Linked DNA regions of Homo sapiens: region 1 is linked to region 2. Evidence: promoter capture Hi-C in 16 types of primary human blood cells and fetal thymus (Javierre and others, 2016). All regions are on one chromosome and are shown on one strand. The core of a region is centred on a gene start or on the middle of the fragment in contact, and the rest is flanking DNA. Distances in the headings are between cores, read along the strand shown.

Region 1 (2,862 bases), core at 174-2,673, 310 kb after region 2:
TATATGCAAATGATAGGAACAAATCTCCCATCAACAAGAGGCTAAATATCCTAGAAGGCTAAAAACAGGCCTGCTCTGAAAGGAGTTCCTAGCCCATGACCGAGCAGCTGGCAGCCAGCAACAGCTCTGATCTTTCTGTGAGGAAGGGACGGAAAGCCCCGGAAGTCTTCAGAAGTCCCATGCTCCAACAAAATATCAGATAAGGAACTCATGAGTCTGTTAATCTTCTCATCAATCAAACCCAATATCACAGCCAACAGCTTTAACGAACTTGCAGTCAGGTGGACACTATGGTGGGGGAGTTCAAAAGGAAAGAGCAATCCTCATGATAGGTAATCATTCTACCAGTTTCCAAACCCAGAAATTAGGGACTCCCTTACCCGTTGCTTGTGAAACATTACCTGCCCCTGACCTTCACCTCAACTTTGCCAGTCAGGAGATAAAAATGTAACCCCTGAGCAGGCCACACACTGGGTGCTGAGAAAAGCCATACAGCTGAGTCCACTCTACTTCTCCTTCCTAACTTAGCCTAAGTAGTTCTACAACCCTATTCCTAAACAGCTCAGAAGAGTCCCTGAGCTAGTCTGGAGAGACATGAGGTATTGAGTCCAGTTACACAAACAGAACAACTTGAGTAAGGACTGGATGACAGAGAGCAACAGGAGCTTAAGTCACATCCAACCAATGACAGAAGGAAAAAGGACAGTGTGATCAGAAAACAGTTTTAAGGAGGTCTAATTTTGGGGATCTCTTTTATTATTTTTAGATGGAGTCTTGCTCTGTCACCCAGGATACAGTGTGCTAGTGTGATCATAGCCTACTGCAGCTTCAAACTCCTGGGCTCAAGTGATCCTCCCACCTCAGCCTCCCATGTAGCTGGGACTACAGCTTTGCACCACCACACCCTACTAATTTTTAATTTTTTTTAGAGATGGGGGTCTTGTTACGTTGCCCAGGCTGGTCTTGAACTCCTGGGGTCAGACAGACAATCCTCCGGCCTCAGCCTCCTGAGTCTGTTCTTTTTCTTAAATCGACTGCTTCTGTAAGCTTTATTGTCACTATCCCCACTCAGCCTCCTTGTAAGGCTGGCAATCCCTCTCTACCACCCACCCCCAAACACACATCTCAGGGGTGATAAGGCAGAGCTGAGGTCCTTCAGAATTGACAGAGATGATTTAAAAACAGTTCAGGACAGGCGTGGTGCCTCACGCCTGTAATTCCAGCACTGTGAAAGGCCGAAGCGGGTGATCACTTGAGGTCAGGAGTTCGAGACCAGCCTGGCCAACATGGTGAAGCCCCGTCTCTACTAAAAATACAAAAATTAGATGGGCATGGTGGTGGGCGCCTGTAGTCCCAGCTACTCAGGAGGCTGAGGCAGGAGAATCACTTGAACGTGGGAGGCGGAAATTGCAGTGAGCTGAGATTGTGCCACTGTACTCCAGCCTGGGTGACAGAGCTAGACTCCAGCTCAAAAAAAAATAAAAATAAAAATAAAAATAAAACAGTTCAGCTTTGGCCTAGGTAAAACGACACGAGAAGACAGCTGGGGGAGAGGATCAAAATGGTGACGGGAAGGGGTGAATGCTAAGAATGTGATGCAACTTTAGAGAAAACATTGTAGTGAGGAGGTCACTGACGGGAAGTTGATACTCAGGGTGTATCATCCCGTATTTGAGAAATTACAACTTGCCAGCCATTCTTCTAAGAGCTTCACATATATTTAATCTTCACACCAGCCCTAAGAGGTAGGGAAAAGGTACATGCTCCATTATCCCCATTTCACATATGAGTAACTCAGAGAAGCTTAGAACCTTGCCCAGGATCACACAGCTCAGTTGGTGGGAGGGCTGGGATTCGACGTCAGGCCTGTCAAGCTCCAGAGCCGCGTTCTTAGCCGCTGCATTTTAGCTTCATACCTGGAAGAAGCAGCAAGGTTTAGGGAAGGGGCGCCGGGAGCGCCGCAGGCCGGGCCAGTGAACACTGAGGGCCAGCAGGGCTGGGCGGGGTGGGTGTGTGCGGGAGATCTCTGAGGACGGCGAAGCCAGACGGGGGCCGGGGCCGGGCCCGGGCTTGGGGAGGCCGGGACGGCCGGAGCAGCGGCGCGGAGGCTGCGGGCGCCGAGGGGGCCCGGGGCTGGCGGGTGGAGGGGCCCCGCCGAGAGGAGACGGGGGCACAGGTGGATGCGAAGAGCGCACCGGATGTGGGACACCAAAGGGGAAGGGGCCACAGGCGCGCGGCGGCGACTCCGGGGTGACATCGAGACAGCCTCTGGGCTGGGAGAGCCCTGCGGGAAGAAGGGAGCCCGCCCGGTCCGGAGGGGAGCGAGGCGGTTCTGAGGGAGGCCGGCGGAAAGGACCCGGGGCGCGGCGCACGCTGGGCCGCCCGGGACGACCCTGCGGGTGGTGATGGTGGCAACATCCAAGGGAGTCTGTTGGGGGGGCCTGAGCGCGACCGTGGGCGGGGGGGTCTCCTCAGGGGCGGCTCACCCGGAGGACTGGGCGGCGTCCCCGCTGTCCCCGGGCTCCGCCGCGTCCCGGGGCTGCCCGGCTTCCCTGCTTTCGGGGCCACGGGCCGCGTCGCGGCTGCTCCGCCATCTCCGAGCGAACGCTCTGCCGCAGCCTGGCCCAACCACCGCTCCCACCGGGGGAGGCGGCGCGCCGCCGCTGGTGGCACCCGCTCGGATCCACCGGCTCCGGCCCTAGCAGCCGCGCGACCTGGGTTCCGGGAAATCAAGCGGCCCTCCGCAGTGCCGGGCCGAGCCGCGGCCTCCGAGACGGCGGGCTCCGCGCCCCGCCCGCGGAAGCGCACCCCCTCCTCTCCGCGCGATGGCACTGCCGGCCGAGCGTCGGGGACCACGACTTC
Region 2 (2,818 bases), core at 218-2,717:
AGTGCTGGGATTACAGATGTGAGCCACCACGCCAGGCCAAATTAGTATTATTCTTTTAAGAACCGAAGAAGGCTCAGGTTGAAAATTTTTAATTAAAAAAAAAAAAGAAAAAAGGTTTCCTTGTTTTTAAATATTTTAATGGAAACATATGAGTCAGATTTCAAAAAGTAGGCTAACGGTGTTTAAATACTGTGCCAGTGTATTTGAGAAGCTGAATGAAAACAAAAGTACCTATATTTTAAAAATAAATACAATACAAATAAGGAAAAGTTCATTCTACGATTTCAATTTATCAATCAAGCTACATGGTAAAGAGAATCATTTCAATTGTTTTTCACCTCCACAGCAGTGTTTGAGGTTGGTAGGCTCTCCCAGGAAGCTTGGAATCTTAAGCAACTCTCAATTAGCCCTCAATTTCTCTATTTTAAATTAATCTGCTGACCTGTTGTGGGTAAACATCCATAAATTCTGCCCTGGCTGAGAAACATTTAACTTTTTCGTCTAGGATGAATGTGTGGGTGTGTGTTTGTAAGGGAGGGGTAACTCCTTTTGACCAAAGTGTTGATGGTTTTCTAAGTAAATACTTGCTATCCACAAGAATTTTTTTTTTCGTTTATGCTGCTTTTTCTCCCTTTCTGCACTATAAAGGCTGGCCTTCCAATTCCTGCCCCGACCCTTCACCGTGATCCAATCCCACAAGGTTCCCCTAATTTCTGCTCCGGGTGGCACCTGACGGCCAAAAGTGAACCCCTGCGGTTGTCGCCAGCTAGACGCGGATAGGGCGGACGACTGTCACCGGGGAGCAGGCGTGGGCCAAAGCCGAGGTGATTTCTGACTGCTCACTGGCGGGCCTCGCGTGGCTGAAGGTCTCCGAGCCCCTCGGTTCGCCCCGGCAAGCCAGAAGTGCAGCTGTCGCGGGGCAGGAAGCTAATCGCGGCCCCTGCGCCGCTTTGACAGGCCGAGTGAAGAGAAAACGGGCTCACTGCAGCTAACAGCCTCACCCCTTGGGCTAGGAAGCCACGGAAGCAAAACCTCCGCCCCGGCCTGAAAGCAACCGGGAGACCGCGGAACCACTGCCACCGACTCAGCCCTGCCCAGCAGGGGCCCGCCCAGGGGCCACTCCCCAAGGGAGGCAGCCAGTCACTCGCCCGCCCTTCCGGGCCCACTCCCGAGGGGACGGTCTCCCGCCCGCCCTCACACACAGCTAGCTCTTCAGGCCAGGCCCCCAGGGTTTCGTCCACCTCTCACCTTTGACGACGCGGTCAGCCCCGGGAGGGGGCGGCGGGGGCGGGGGTGGGGGCGGTGCAGCCCGGGCCGGCTCCGGGGCGGCCATGCTGGGCCCGGGGCTCGGCTAGGCTCTGGGCCGGGCGGGGTTGGGGGCGGGGGCGGCGGCTACCAGAGCCAAGCGGCGGCGCCGCCGGGGAACATGGCGGACCCTCTTTCCCTACAGAGGGGCTAAGACCGGCATGCACTGCGCGTGCGGGGGTGGGGGCGGGGTAGGCTCTAGGGACTTGGGCAAAATTACTGAAGCTAGGAGAGAAACAGGACGAGGCCAAGGGATCAGGTTAAAATTCTTTGCATGCAGAATGAAGAATGAGGAGGTGCTGCGATCGAACGACTGCGAGGAAACACACCCGCTCTCATGGCATTCCCAGTAAACTGAGAAGACGTGATTAAACCTCAGGATCTCCTACTAATAGAGAAATGTATAACGATTTAGCTACCAGATCTGAATACTGAAGGGTTGGTAGGGGACCAGAGAATAGAGGAAGCATTGTAGGTTCTAGAGTGGAGAAGGGACCATCCAAAATGGAGTTTGAAAGAGAATTCTGGCCTTTGTGTTTAGAGTCTGGAATTGTCAAGAGTCTGAAAGCACAGAATAAGACTGCAGCTAGAGCAATTTAGGCGCCATAGTTTGTCAAAACAGGTAAGGGGAATAAAGGGGATGACACCAAGAGATGTGCAAAGAATCTGAAGAATTCACCTGAAAAGGATACAACCTCCTCCTGGAAGGCAGAGGAGTAAATAGGGAATTGGAAATTAATTCCTTATTTCTGCACATGCACAGAATCTGGGCCCAGGTGACTTATGGAACCTTTATAGAGACCACGGTGACTGACACTCATGGGAAAGGGGGTAGAGGGGCAAGAACTGACTGTTCATCAAAAATTATTAGATGAGTGTGTCCACGACACCAGGAGATATGTTGAATCATGGACAGGGACCAGCATATCCACTAAGCTCTATATATCTTGATGGTGCAGGATCCAAGTGGGATGGAACAACCAATTCCTGCCCATCCTCCTGCTCAATAATACATGTGCTCAGAATCTGTTCATAATGCATGGTGGTAAGTAAGTAGTAGTCCGAAGGTCCAAGGAGTACCTTTCTACCTCTTCTTTGTGTCAATTTCTATCCTGAGACCCCAGGAAAAGAGGAAGGGAAAGACCCAACAATGGATTTTTTCCAAAAAGGGAACCCACAAGCTATTTTTTAGAGGGAAGAGTCTCGGGAGTGAGGCACAGGTGAAAATGGATCTTTCTGGCATGGAAGGGCCATAACACCACAGGGGAAGGGAAAGGGAGAGGCCCCCACGGAAGGAGAGGAAGGAAGGGACAGGAGGCACGTCACAAACTTATAAGATAGAGGGAAGGCACCTGGAGTACATTGATCAGGAGTGAGTCTGTAAGAAGAGCTTGAATCCCCAGAAAATCTTCCTAAGGAGGGGAGGAAGGAAGTGTATAATGTACTGAGTACTGAATGCTCTGTCAGGAAAGGGATGGGAAACATCCTAGCAGCAATACTAGAAAGGAAAGGC

Evidence for each region. Contacts are between HindIII fragments. The CHiCAGO score rates a contact against its expected background, and 5 or more counts as called.
Region 1: a contact is called between a fragment that was not itself captured here and the fragment with the promoter of PPP3CB in region 2, in 1 of 17 cell types (fetal thymus). The highest score is 10.0, in fetal thymus.

Annotation. Positions count from the first base shown.
Region 1 is chr10:73,808,988-73,811,849 of GRCh38, forward strand. NDST2 (N-deacetylase and N-sulfotransferase 2) reads right to left here and starts at 2,611. Exons shown (of 15, transcript NM_003635.4): 1 at 2,487-2,611; 2 at 1,812-1,916. It overlaps NDST2-ZSWIM8-AS1 (NDST2-ZSWIM8-AS1 readthrough), which reads right to left and starts at 2,833. Exons shown (of 18, transcript NR_182658.1): 1 at 2,487-2,833; 2 at 1,812-1,916. RefSeq lists silencers at 2,046-2,115, 2,416-2,862. The HindIII fragment of the contact is 756 bases long and covers 1,046-1,801 here.
Region 2 is chr10:73,494,557-73,497,374 of GRCh38, forward strand. PPP3CB (protein phosphatase 3 catalytic subunit beta) reads right to left here and starts at 1,468. Exons shown (of 14, transcript NM_021132.4): 1 at 1,249-1,468. The coding sequence starts at 1,333. It overlaps PPP3CB-AS1 (PPP3CB antisense RNA 1), which reads left to right and starts at 1,196. Exons shown (of 5, transcript NR_132104.1): 1 at 1,196-1,261; 2 at 1,586-1,927. RefSeq lists enhancers at 535-994, 1,485-1,674 and a silencer at 1,055-1,404. The HindIII fragment of the contact is 5,148 bases long and covers 378-2,818 here.